Linked DNA regions of Homo sapiens: regions 2, 3, 4 and 5 are each linked to region 1. Evidence: promoter capture Hi-C in 16 types of primary human blood cells and fetal thymus (Javierre and others, 2016). All regions are on one chromosome and are shown on one strand. The core of a region is centred on a gene start or on the middle of the fragment in contact, and the rest is flanking DNA. Distances in the headings are between cores, read along the strand shown. Region 1 holds the start of MANSC1 (MANSC domain containing 1). Region 2 overlaps GPR19 (G protein-coupled receptor 19). Region 3 overlaps BCL2L14 (BCL2 like 14). Region 4 overlaps CREBL2 (cAMP responsive element binding protein like 2). Region 5 overlaps BCL2L14 (BCL2 like 14).

The links. The method cuts DNA at HindIII sites, captures the fragments that hold promoters and counts their contacts. A CHiCAGO score of 5 or more calls a contact.
Region 2: a contact is called between a fragment that was not itself captured here and the fragment with the promoter of MANSC1 in region 1, in 12 of 17 cell types (monocytes, endothelial precursors, M1 macrophages and 9 more). The highest score is 7.9, in monocytes.
Region 3: a fragment that was not itself captured here is called in contact with the fragment with the promoter of MANSC1 in region 1 in 3 of 17 cell types (endothelial precursors, M1 macrophages and megakaryocytes); the score reaches 8.7 in endothelial precursors.
Region 4: a fragment that was not itself captured here is called in contact with the fragment with the promoter of MANSC1 in region 1 in 8 of 17 cell types (neutrophils, total CD4 T cells, total B cells and 5 more); the score reaches 6.8 in neutrophils.
Region 5: a fragment that was not itself captured here is called in contact with the fragment with the promoter of MANSC1 in region 1 in 1 of 17 cell types (endothelial precursors); the score reaches 5.7 in endothelial precursors.

What each region holds. Positions count from the first base shown.
Region 1 is chr12:12,348,964-12,351,572 of GRCh38, reverse strand. MANSC1 (MANSC domain containing 1) reads left to right here and starts at 1,331. Exons shown (of 4, transcript NM_018050.4): 1 at 1,331-1,495. RefSeq lists a silencer at 1,021-1,330. The HindIII fragment of the contact is 5,175 bases long and covers 1-2,225 here.
Region 2 is chr12:12,660,793-12,663,401 of GRCh38, reverse strand. GPR19 (G protein-coupled receptor 19) reads left to right here. Exons shown (of 4, transcript NM_006143.3): 4 at 932-2,512. The coding sequence starts at 954. The coding sequence ends at 2,201. Among named protein-coding and RNA genes, the nearest start is that of GPR19, 34 kb to the left of the region's middle. The HindIII fragment of the contact is 1,660 bases long and covers 499-2,158 here.
Region 3 is chr12:12,074,701-12,077,309 of GRCh38, reverse strand. All of the region lies in intron 1 of BCL2L14 (BCL2 like 14), which reads right to left. Among named protein-coding and RNA genes, the nearest start is that of BCL2L14, 5.1 kb to the right of the region's middle. The HindIII fragment of the contact is 4,952 bases long and covers 1-2,609 here.
Region 4 is chr12:12,627,002-12,629,610 of GRCh38, reverse strand. All of the region lies in intron 1 of CREBL2 (cAMP responsive element binding protein like 2), which reads right to left. Among named protein-coding and RNA genes, the nearest start is that of CREBL2, 16 kb to the right of the region's middle. The HindIII fragment of the contact is 3,664 bases long and covers 1-2,609 here.
Region 5 is chr12:12,090,897-12,093,505 of GRCh38, reverse strand. All of the region lies in intron 4 of BCL2L14 (BCL2 like 14), which reads right to left. Among named protein-coding and RNA genes, the nearest start is that of MIR1244-4, 20 kb to the left of the region's middle. The HindIII fragment of the contact is 4,089 bases long and covers 1-2,609 here.

The DNA of each region.
Region 1 (2,609 bases), core at 82-2,581:
ATTAAAGCACCGAATACGAAGTTTCTAATAATGGAAAGGTCTACTTTGTAACTAGCATGGATTACCCCATGTAGAGAGATTCAAAAACTGTGATAGCTCTACACCCTGAACCCTGAAGTGTATCAGATGATAAAAGATAAAACACACTTGCAGATCAGTCCCTTGTTGCATCAGGAAAATCACTGCAATGGGAAATTACTCTGGTGTTTACTTTTCTTTGGTAACTCTTTCAAACCTAGCTTTAGCAACATTGTAATTCAAGAGTCATCCTTTGGTTACAAGTAGAGTTAGTTTCACACAATGGACCTTTGTTCACAAGCATTCTCAGTCAACCTAATCCTCCTGTAGTTATTGGTTAAGACTAGGGTGTGTAGCTGTTGGCCGTACAGGCCTAGACTTAACTTGCAATTGCATAGCGCTTCAGGTCTGCAAGCTCTTTCAAAACAGAGGTGAAGATACTGTCAAAGGTTAGACCATATGGCAAACTAAGTGTCAATGGTTTAGTAACGTTGCATTTGTGTGTGTGTTTATGGAGGTGGGGATGGGGCCAGCAGTAATTTAGAAACTTCCACAACCTATGCCCTATGCAGTTCTTTTCCATTCATTCAGTCAACAAAAATATTTTAGTTAAATATTTACTGAGCACCTATTGTGTACCAGGCACTATGCTAAGTGTTAGGGATACAGTTTTAATATATGTTACAGACACCAGCATTTTCACCATTATTATCCTATCTACAAACAATAAATCCCGCAGAAAGCCAAATACCTTCCCTGAAGTTTGTCTTGCAGATAATATTTAACTCAAGAATTGCCATCTTTAATTGAGGACTCCATCCTCCAATTATGGAAAGAGGATTCTCAGAACTATGCCCCCAATAGGATGCACTATAAGCCCTTGAACATCAAAAAACTGCTCTCAGTGGTTGCCTCTGAGGAGGGAGACTAGGAGACTGGGGCACGGGGGTGAGGGGTAGACTTGTCTCTGTGTCTATTTTTGTACTGTTTGACATTTTCCCCATGTGCATTTATTTTAACTTGCGCGGGCCGCGAGGCAAGGCTCACCTGCAGACCCTCGGGCCACCAGCAGGGAGGCACGCACTCCCCCTCGCAGCGCGCCCAGCCCGGGGTCAGCGGTGTGGCTGAGCTGGGGGGGAGCGCGGGGCGGTGGGGGGAGCCACCTCCCTGCGGGGCTCAGCGCTGGGGCCGGGAGCCCGGAGCCTCCGCGGGGAGGGACGCGCTAATGTTGCCGGGAAGCAGCTCCGGGTTGCAGGGCAGGAACGTGCCCTTCCCCCGCGGCAAACTTGCCGTCGCTGCGACGGAAGCAGGAACTTGCTAACCACAAAACCCGCCAGGCCGGTGCGGGAGCTGCGGAGCATCCGCTGCGGTCCTCGCCGAGACCCCCGCGCGGATTCGCCGGTCCTTCCCGCGGGCGCGACAGAGCTGTCCTCGCACCTGGATGGCAGCAGGGGCGCCGGGGTCCTCTCGACGCCAGGTAAAGGGGTCTCCCCAATACCCACCCCCGACCGGCCGCAGGCGACGTCGCTACCTGCGGAGAGAGTCGGTCCCCTCCTTTCCAGGGGCCGAGGCTCCTTCACCCACACCCGAGCATCCAAAGGACCAGCTGGGGCCAATAAGGGCTGACCAGGATCCTTGAGTCGCTGCAGTATTCCAAAGGGGACCTCTAGGCGGGCTCAAGGCACCTGCCATAAATGGCTCTGGCTCTGCGTTGACATCAGAAGGAGAGGCAGAAGAATAGCTCAGTAGGCAACATGCATTTCCTCAAAGGAAGAGAAAATGTTCCCTGTTTTCTTGTCGTTGACTCTGTATTCATTATTGAAACTGCTAATTGTCTAATTCTCTGTAGAGTGTGTGTGTGTATACAGTTATAAGCATCTTGGTAAATTATAGTGTGCTGTAAGACGATTTCCAATATTTGAACTAATTACGTGCGAGTAAGTTTTAGCGACTCTTGTATGCAGACGTTAAAACTCAGGGGCATCCTCTCTCACCCGCCTGTATCCTTTTACCCCGTCTTTCAACAAGATTCAACTCGACTTCAGGCCCTTAAAGCCTAAATAATAATGGATTAGAAAACGTCGCTAACCTAATATTGCTGAGCCTCTTTAATGATATAAAACTCTTAAACACTTCTCTCAATGCTGCATACTGAAAACAACTCCTGCCCCATCTCCTTACATAGTTCAGGTTTCTTTGCAAAAGCTTGAAAAGAGGCTACATTAGAATCCATTCAAAATAAAGTATTGGCCTGGTTTTCTCTTGATTCCCTAGAGGCTTGCAAAATATGGCAGCGTATTAAGTACCTTGGCCAGAATTATTAACCTGGGGAGTCCACGATAAGGTATCCATGGATAGAATTCAGGATGTCTGTGAACTTGAGTGGAAAAAATTATTATTTCACCGACTTCTGAAATGGAATGTAGGCAAAAGCCACAGTAGTATTAGCAGTAGCTATGATTTGCCCCCTGTAAATATTGCCGATATCTTTATATCACATGACTTGTTGCACGTTTCAAAATATTATCTATACTCAATACCACGTCAAAATTATGGCAGTTATTAGATGACCACTTGTTACTTAATAGGTT
Region 2 (2,609 bases), core at 79-2,578, 310 kb before region 1:
GCTGGATTCAAACTTCTGGACCAACTGATCCTCCTGCTTCAGCCTTCTGAGTAGCTGGGACTATAGGTGTTCCCCACTGTGCTTAGCTAACAGTTACATTTTTTTGTTGTTTTTAATCACCTGACTGCCATAAGGTCTCCCGTAACCTGGTTACATTTCTTAGAGGACATCTTGTATGTTCTTCAGTCAGTATTTTATGAAACAATAACAACAGAATAGCATCAAAATATATGTCACTGGTAGGTGGCAAGCTATTAGTGCATGAACTGTATCGTCTTTTAGAAAAAGCAAGCTATTTTCAGATGTCATTAAATTAGGAGCTATTTCTGGCTCATGTAGCAGTGTTGACTGCTCCATGTGTTACCATAATCCTTCTGTGATGGAAAATCTACACTAAGTAAGGACAGCACCCTTCCCAGTAGCTAGCCTGTCTACATTCACAGACTGCTGTTAGCTACTTCCATAGTCAAAATCTGTGTGTTTTCATCTGCCCAAGCTTTCCTCTTTTGCAACCTTAGGACAATTAGGAACTTCTCACATACTTGCCCAGAATTCCAGCAGATCTTCAGTTGGTGGTAACACCGTTACCATGAGCCAGATTTGAGATCCCTAATATTCTGTGATCCCTGATGAGTGAAGGGAACAAGGATATGTGTAGGAGGGGAGCTCGGTATGACTAAGGGTCAAGAGAAGGTGAGGCCAGAGAGAGCCTGAGCTGAGATCTGCTGAAACAGCTCCTAAAATGAAAACAAAGTTGGGGCCAGAATTTTTTCTGGATAGTAGTTATGTTTTCCTGCCAACGCTCAAGTCCTACACAAAGACAAATGACAATCAATGTAAATGTCAAATAAGATCGTTAGCCTGAGTAATCATAACCAATCTGTATGACACCTTTTTAACAGGAGGCCTCATTCTTCTTTTCCCCAACCAGAATTAAGAGAAAAAAAGTGAATATGGTTTTTGCTCACAGAATGGATAACAGCAAGCCACATTTGATTATTCCTACACTTCTGGTGCCCCTCCAAAACCGCAGCTGCACTGAAACAGCCACACCTCTGCCAAGCCAATACCTGATGGAATTAAGTGAGGAGCACAGTTGGATGAGCAACCAAACAGACCTTCACTATGTGCTGAAACCCGGGGAAGTGGCCACAGCCAGCATCTTCTTTGGGATTCTGTGGTTGTTTTCTATCTTCGGCAATTCCCTGGTTTGTTTGGTCATCCATAGGAGTAGGAGGACTCAGTCTACCACCAACTACTTTGTGGTCTCCATGGCATGTGCTGACCTTCTCATCAGCGTTGCCAGCACGCCTTTCGTCCTGCTCCAGTTCACCACTGGAAGGTGGACGCTGGGTAGTGCAACGTGCAAGGTTGTGCGATATTTTCAATATCTCACTCCAGGTGTCCAGATCTACGTTCTCCTCTCCATCTGCATAGACCGGTTCTACACCATCGTCTATCCTCTGAGCTTCAAGGTGTCCAGAGAAAAAGCCAAGAAAATGATTGCGGCATCGTGGGTCTTTGATGCAGGCTTTGTGACCCCTGTGCTCTTTTTCTATGGCTCCAACTGGGACAGTCATTGTAACTATTTCCTCCCCTCCTCTTGGGAAGGCACTGCCTACACTGTCATCCACTTCTTGGTGGGCTTTGTGATTCCATCTGTCCTCATAATTTTATTTTACCAAAAGGTCATAAAATATATTTGGAGAATAGGCACAGATGGCCGAACGGTGAGGAGGACAATGAACATTGTCCCTCGGACAAAAGTGAAAACTATCAAGATGTTCCTCATTTTAAATCTGTTGTTTTTGCTCTCCTGGCTGCCTTTTCATGTAGCTCAGCTATGGCACCCCCATGAACAAGACTATAAGAAAAGTTCCCTTGTTTTCACAGCTATCACATGGATATCCTTTAGTTCTTCAGCCTCTAAACCTACTCTGTATTCAATTTATAATGCCAATTTTCGGAGAGGGATGAAAGAGACTTTTTGCATGTCCTCTATGAAATGTTACCGAAGCAATGCCTATACTATCACAACAAGTTCAAGGATGGCCAAAAAAAACTACGTTGGCATTTCAGAAATCCCTTCCATGGCCAAAACTATTACCAAAGACTCGATCTATGACTCATTTGACAGAGAAGCCAAGGAAAAAAAGCTTGCTTGGCCCATTAACTCAAATCCACCAAATACTTTTGTCTAAGTTCTCATTCTTTCAATTGTTATGCACCAGAGATTAAAAAGCTTTAACTATAAAAACAGAAGCTATTTACATATTTGTTTTCACTCAACTTTCCAAGGGAAATGTTTTATTTTGTAAAATGCATTCATTTGTTTACTGTAGTTTTTGTGGGTTTTATTTTACTTGCTTTTTATGTTTTAGGAAAAGCGTTCACTTTGAACTTTAGCCAACAGTCCTTTTACTATTAATATATTAGTTACATGCATAAAAAAGAAAATGCTTTCTTACTATTTACTGTTGGTTCAAAAACATAAACCTAAGCCATACACACAGTCTTTGATTAATGATTCAATCTAGTTTTATTTTGTTTTCTTTTTCTCCTCCTTACTGAATTTTTATAACTATGGGCTTCAGTTCCAAATGAAATCC
Region 3 (2,609 bases), core at 77-2,576, 270 kb after region 1:
TCAGCCTCCCAAAGTGCTGAGATTACAGCCATGAGCTACCATGCCCGGCCTCAGGCTCTGTCTTAATATGGCTCTTAATAATGTTCCCTTCCCTTTCTGGTCCTAATTTAAGACGGTCTTTCGGCATGTAAGCTGCTGTGATGATAAAGAAGCTGCAGTAATATTAAGGGGACTGGCTGGCATGTTCCTCTTTTTCTTTCCACTGTACCTTGTCATACCAGGACCAAATGATAAAGAAATGGGACAGTAACTGCAGACAGGGTTTGAGGCAATGTGAGGTGGTACAGACAAGTTGGCCTGGGTGTCTGAAGGATGGATAGCCACGGCTGGCTCAGCTTCTAACCTGCAACATCCTTGGGCAAGTCACGCCACCTTTTTGTTCCTCGGTGTCCAAGTTGTTAGATAGAATAAGGATATTCTCTAACTTTTCCCCCTGGTTCTGCTATTGGAAGGAGGTGTAGGAGCTGAAATATCTCCCCTGAGGGCCTGCTGGATGCTGCCTTTTTCCATCACTGTCTCCTCTCCTTTACTTAGAAGAGGCTCACATTGGCTGATAGCGAAGCTGTTGATCTGAGGAACTGCTCCTTGGCCAGGCCCCAGGAAAGCAAGGGTCCCTGGCTAGGTGCGTTCTGATGGAAGTGAGCCTGGGAGGGATGCAGCGGGCTATGCTGCAACATCAGGTGATGCTGGAGGGGACAAAAATGGCCCTCCCAGTGCAGCAAAGGGCAAGTTGCAAAACCCACCAGACCAACTACACAGATACAATTATACAACTTCCAAGCCCCGCAAACCTCCCTCACATAACTGGATGTAAGCAAATGCTTGAGGAGTATGGCATGAAGTGGGGGTCATGACTGCAATCCTTCCTCCTCCTCTGCTGTTTCTTCACATTCCTGTCTTATTCCAGGGCTTGGACAATCTTTCTTCCCGCCACTGCTCCAATTTCACATTCACTTACATGCATTTCACTTACATGCAAATCGTTTGCTCTGTAAGGAGTCACGTCAGTGTCTCCTCGAAGGTCATGTTCCTTACTGCTTTTCCACTTACCCCTTCCCGCTCCCCAATTCCATCCAATCCCACCCTCCCCCATGCATTTTCCGGGCATCCCACCCTCCCCCATGCATTTTCCGGGCATCCCACCCTCCCCCATGCATTTTCCGGGCATCCCACCCTCCCCCATGCATTTTCCGGGCATCCCACCCTCCCCTCATCCATCCTGCAGCACAGCCCTGTCCATTCTGCTTGTACTGGACATCTGGTGACCCTATACTCACCCCAGCTCCACTTCCCTGTTCCCAATGACCAATCTTGGTCTCACTAAAGGTGAGACAACCATTATGTGTCTCCTGATCCAAAAACATTGGATCCGAATCTGATCAAGCCTCTGGATCTAATGATCAGTTTACAGGAAATACAGGGGACAGAGAAATAAACTAATGACCACAAGAAGGCAGCTATCCAAATTCAGTATCTGGTAAGTTCTGCAAGACAAATGGCCGGTTTCTTCAACAAATAAATGGCGCCAAAAAAAGGTGAAGACAGAGAACTGCTACAGCTTAAAAGAGACATAAGAAACATATCCGGCAGGGGACGATGGCTCACGCCTGTAATCCTAGCACTTTGGGAGGCCAAGGCGGGTAGTTCACCAGAGGTCGGGAGTTTGAGACCAGCCTGACCAACATGGAGAAACCCCGTCTCTACTAAAAATACAAAATTAGCCAGGCATGGTGGCACATGCCTGCAATCCCAGCTACTCGGGAGGCTGAGGCAGGAGAATCACTTGAACCCAGGAGGCGGAGGTTGCAGTGAGCCGAGATCACGCCATTGCATCCAGCCTGGGCAACAACAGCGAAACTCCGTCTCAAAAAAAAAAGAAAGAAAGAAAGAAAGAAAGAATAGAAACATATCAGGCAGGGCACAATCGTTCACGCCTGTAATCCCAGCACTTTGGGAGGCAGGAGTTCAAGAGCAGCCTGGCCAACGTGGTGAAACCCTGTCTCTAAAAAAAATACAAAAATTAGCTGGGCATGATGGCAGGTGCCTGTAATTCCAGTGAGTTGGGAGACTGCAACAGGAGAATCACTTGAACCTGGGAGGCAAAGGTTGCAGTGAGCGGGGATCGCGCCATTGCACTCCAGCCTGGGTGACACACGGAGACTCTGTCTCAAAAATAAATAAATAAATAAAAAGAAAAAAAAGAAACATATTAAAAAAAAAGAGACATCAATTAGATGTCATGAGTGGATCTTTATTAAATCGTAATTCAAACATACTGTATAAAGATGTAGATATCTTTGAGATGATAGAGAACTAAACACAGTACAGTGTATGTTTTAGATGATATTAAGGAAGTATTGATCATCTTGGCTGGCACCGTGGCTCACACCTGTAATCCCACCACCTTAGGAGGCCAAGGTGGGAGGATCACTTGAGACCTGGATTTGGAGACCAGTCTAGGCAACAAAGTAAGATCCCATCCCTATTTTTTAAAATTTAAAAATTAAAACATTTTTTAAAAAGATAATCTCATTAAATGTGGTAACATTGCCATTAAAAAGTACATATCTGGGCTGGGCGCGGTGGCTCACGCCTGTAATCCTAGCACT
Region 4 (2,609 bases), core at 64-2,563, 280 kb before region 1:
TTCAGGGAAAGGAAAGGAAAAAGTAAAGCTATCTCCTTGAAGGTGACATGATTTTATATATAGAAAATCCAATCCAAAAGAATTCTTGCCCCCCTGAAAAAACCTATTAGAGCTACTAAATGAGTAGAGCAAGGGTCCAGGATACAAGATCAATATACAAAAATCAGTTGTGTTTCTACACACTATCAATGAACAATCTGAAAATGAAATTAAGAAAATGACTCCACTTACAGTAGCCTAAAAAAGAATACAATACTCAGGAATAAATTTAGCATAAGGAGTGTCAAATCTGTGCACTAAAAACCACAAAATATCATTAAAAGAAATTAAAGAAGATCTGATAAATGGAAAGGCAGCCCATGTTAGTGGGCTGGAAGATTTATTATTATTAAGAAAGGAATACTCCTCAAATTGATCTACAGTTTCAACAAAATTCCTATCAAAATCTCAGCTACCTTTTTGCTGAAATTGGCAGGCTAATCCTAAAGTTCACATGGAAATACGAGGGACCCAGAATAACCAAAACAATCTTGAAAAAGACGCAAATTGGAGGGCTCACACTTTCTGATTTCAGAATTTATTAGAAAGCTACAGTAATCAAGACAGTGTAATACTGGCACAAGGACAGACATACAGACCAATGGAAAAGCATAGAGAATCCAGAAATAAATCCTTACGTTTATGGTCAATTGATTTTTGACAAGGTGCCAAAGCAATTAAATGGGGAAAGAATAGTCTCTTCAATAAAGGGTGCTGGGACAGGTGGATAGCCACTTGCAAAATAATTAAGTTGGATCACTACCTCGTACCATATACAAAAATTAAAAATTGAACAAGCCGGGTGCAGTGGTTCACACTGTAATCCCAGCACTTTGGGAGGCTGGGGCGAGAGGATCTCTTGAGCCCAGGAGGTCAAGACTGCAGTGAAGCTGGGTTTGTGCCACTGCAGTCCGGCCTAGATGACAGAGTGAGACCCTGTCTCAAATTTAAAAAAAATAGAACAAAGGCCTAAATGTCAGAGATAAAACTATAAAACTTAGAGGAAAACAGAGGATTTACTCCTTATGACCTTGGATTAGGCAATGGTTTCTTAGATATGATAAGCACAAGCTACCAAACTGTATTTCAAGGATAATCAAGGTAAAAAGACAACCCACAGAATGGGAGAAAATATTTGTAAATCACAAATATGATAAGGGACTTGTATCTAGAATACATAAAGAACTCTTACAACTCAATAATAAAAAGACAACCCAATTTTAAAAAGGGGCAAGGATTTGGATAGACATTCCTCCAAAGAAGATATACAAATGCCAATAAGCAAATGAAAAAATACTCAACATCATTAGTCATCAGGGAAATGTGAATGAAAACCACAAAATATATCACTTTACACCCACTAGGATGTTTACATAATCAAAAAGATAGCCAATGCCAGGCATGGTGGCTTAGCCTGTAATCCCAGCACTTTGGGAGGCTGAGGTGGGCGGATCATAATGTCAAGAGATCAAGACCATCCTGGCCAACATAGTGAAACCCCATCTCTACTAAAAATAAAAAACAATTAGCTGGGCATGGTGGCGCGCGCCTGTAGGCCCAGCTACTCGGGAGGCTGAGGCAGGAGAATCGCTTGAACCCGGGAGTTGGAGGTTGCAGTGAGCCGAGATTGCACCACTCCATCCTGGCAACAAAGTGAGACTCCGTCTCAAAAAAAAAGACAACCAGTAACAAGTACTGGTGCAGATGTGGAGAAAGTGAAATCCTCATACATTGCTGTGGGAATGTAAAATGGTGCAGCCACTTTGGAAAACATTTTGGCAGTTCCTCAAAAAGTTAAACATAAAGTTTATAACCTAGCAATTCCAGCCCTAGGTATATTCCAAAAAGAAAGGAAAACATAGGTCCACATTAGAACTTGTATATCAATGTTCACAGCACCATTACTCATGATACCTAAAAAGCAGAAACAACCCAAATGTCCATCAACTGATGAATAGATAACAAAAAGTAGTATATCCATACAATGGAACATTATTCAGCTATAAAATGGAATGAAGTGCTGACACACGGTACAACACTGATAGCCTTGAAAGCATTATGCTAAGTGAAAGACAAATACAAAAGGCCACATATTGTATTATTCCAAATCTATAGAGACTTAAAGTAGATTAATGGTTGCTTAGGGCTGAGAAGGGAAGAAAAAATGGGGAGTGCCTGTTAATGGCCTCAGAGTTTCTTTTTTTCTTTTTTAAATCAATAGACTTTATTTTTTTACAGCTGTTTAGGTTTACGGGAAAATTAAGAAGAAAGTACAGGGAGTTCCTATACTATCCCCTCTCCACTCTCACAGTTTCCCTTATTATTAACATCTTTCATTAGTGTGGTACATTTATTATAATTGATGAACTAACATTGATTTATTATTAGTAACTGAAGTCCACAGTTTACATTAGAGTTCACTCTTGGTGTGGTATATTCTATGAATTTTGATAAGCAGTATCATACAGAATCGTCTCACTGCCCTAAAAACCCCCTGTGCTCCATCTATTCCTCCCTCTCTTCCTCCCTCTCCTGAAACCCTGACAATCACTGAACTTTTTACTATCTCT
Region 5 (2,609 bases), core at 34-2,533, 260 kb after region 1:
CTTCATTTTCTTAAGAAACTTTTATTATTATTGTTTTTTAGGGACAAGGCTTACTATATTGCCCAGGCTGGTCTCAAACTCCTGGCCTCAAGCGATCCTCCCACCTCGGCCTCCCCAGGAGCTGGGATTACAAGTGTGAGCCACTGTGCTTGGCCCTATACTATAGGGTAGTTGAACACTTTATAGTGCTGGACATAGAAGAGGTGCTTTGGAAATGCGAGTCATTTTTCAGGATGCTACGGGAGCATGGAGGTCAGGGAAGACTCCCTTGCATGCAATGTTCACTTAAAAAAACTCCAATTCATTGATTTCTTTCCCATTATTCTACCCTATTGATTTTACCTCCCGGCCTTCCCTTGAACCTGGTATCTCTCTGCTTTACCTCCTTTGAACTACCACGCCTTTAAAACAAAATCAATGCTGCCTCTTCTGCTTTTGAAAAATCAGGGCTCATATCAAAAAGCTATATATCATCTTCATTTAAAGCATTCTTGCAATGTCTGTTAATATGCTGGTTGTCATGTGAAAACGGAAATTTCTGAGTGAGCAGGGACAAAATATTTATTTGAAAATCCTCTAGTTCTGTCCTAGAGGAATGATAAGCCAAGCGGGTTTTCAACAAATATTGTTTCTAAAAGGGATATCTGGGGGATGAGTCAGATGCGATTGGGAGATTTTGGCAGACCTGTCTTTTCCCTGAACCACGCCCACCCCCACCGTCCAGGCCCCGTCTGGGTTGTGACTCTGCAGGAGGCATGGCCAGCCTCCTCCATAACAGGGAACAGACTCCTCTTCATCAGTTTCCCAATGGAGGAGGCCAGGCTCAAAACCCTAGCAGGCAGCCAAGTGGGGACTGTGCCAGAACAGTAAAAGAATCAAACGCCACAAAGACAGGGCTTCCACTGGCACCTCCTCACCCCTCCCCTGCCTGTCCCTCTCGGGTGCACCTGGCTCTTTGGCCTCTCCTGGAGGTGTAGGATGGGCCTTCGGGCTGTGTGTGCTCTTGGGACCAGCGGCTCTGCAGATCCCCTGCAGCCACACACACGGCACTCTGCAGTGGGAGCTTGGCACCCGCCCAGCACAAGGTCACACCTACCATGTGTCTCTAGCAGAGCTCCCTACTGGGGAAGCATGTAAAGGAAATAACAACCAAGGCTTTGCCATAAGCAATGTAAAATGTCCAAACTCCTTAAGAGAGAGCACCAGGCAAAGTGAGGTTTTTGAAAGTGGTAATTTGTGGGGGTGAAAATGAAACCATCGCTCTTCATAACCTGAGATCGGTGGCCTTCGTCCCACCTCCAGCACCCCCACTCCGCCTTTCCCACCTCCCTGACCAATGACCACAAGTCCCTGCTTAGGGAAGCTGGGAAGGAGGTTGCCGTGAGAGCCACAGAAACTCTGAGTTGTAAAGAGCCCTTGAGGTTGTCTAAAGGACCCCTCGGAGTTCTGTGCTGAAATGCTAACTGGTATTGGCACCTACTTGCAATTCTTCCCGTGACAGGAAGATCATTCTCTCACAAGGCACCCGTTGACTCTCATGGGCAGCCTGGAATGCCTATTCTCCAGGAATGGAGGTTCATTCTTACCATAAGGAGAAATCAATCACCCCATACTAGGCATAATTTGTGTATCCATGACACTAGCTCTGGAGAAATGCAGGGGTGCCCTTAAATCATGATCCTGTTCCATCTCTTGCTTCCTCTGCACCCCTCTCCACCCTCTACTTGTGGTCCCAAAGCTCACACACCCCGTTCTCTTTTCTTTAACCTAATATCCCTGGTTTTCTCGCTGTTTCTCATTCTGTCCCATCTCCCAGGTGCTTCGCCCTCTGGGTCACCAGCCTCTGGGCACACTTTTGACAAAGCTATAGACAGGAGCTGTTTGTCTTCCTGCAGAACCTCCCATCCCCACCCCCAGGGTCTGACTCCCTCCCCACAGATTCTGGAAAAACAAGGGTCTATGTCTGCAAGCCAGCCCCTGATTGACAGATTCTAGAGACTACTCAGTCGTCTGTGGGTTATGGACCCAGGAGGCATAGAGAAGCCCTTTTGACTCTGTTGAAGGTTTGCTCACCAACTGTTTACCTGAAGGCAACTCTCACCCGTTCCTGATTGGAAAGATGGGTCTCAACTTCCAAATGGCAGGAAATCCATACATTCTCCCAGTAACACTAGCGCACCTCCCTGGCTGAACTGCTAAGAGAGCCCTTAAACAGGCAACAGTCCAGCAACTACAGGGGAAAAAGATTCCAGAAAGTATTCCAGCTTTGGAGCAACTGTGGGACACAGATATCCAGGCTGCAAAGCAAATGCGAGTCTAAACTTCAATGAGGATCAGTTACATGGGGAATGAGATTAATAATTCCATCCAGCAAATTTTAATTTACTGGTGTCTTTTCTTGCAATAACAAGTTTCTTTTTTAGTTTCCAAAAATTCCAAGGAGGCTCCAGAAGGTTTACTTATGTTTTCCAAAGTGACTCATTTTTGAGATTCTACCAGCATGAAGAATTTTGACTCCAAGGGAAATAAAATTTAGGACTAAGTAGAAACCAGGACTTAGAAAGGGAATAAGGTTGCAACCTGGAATACAATTCCATTCTCGTGTACTA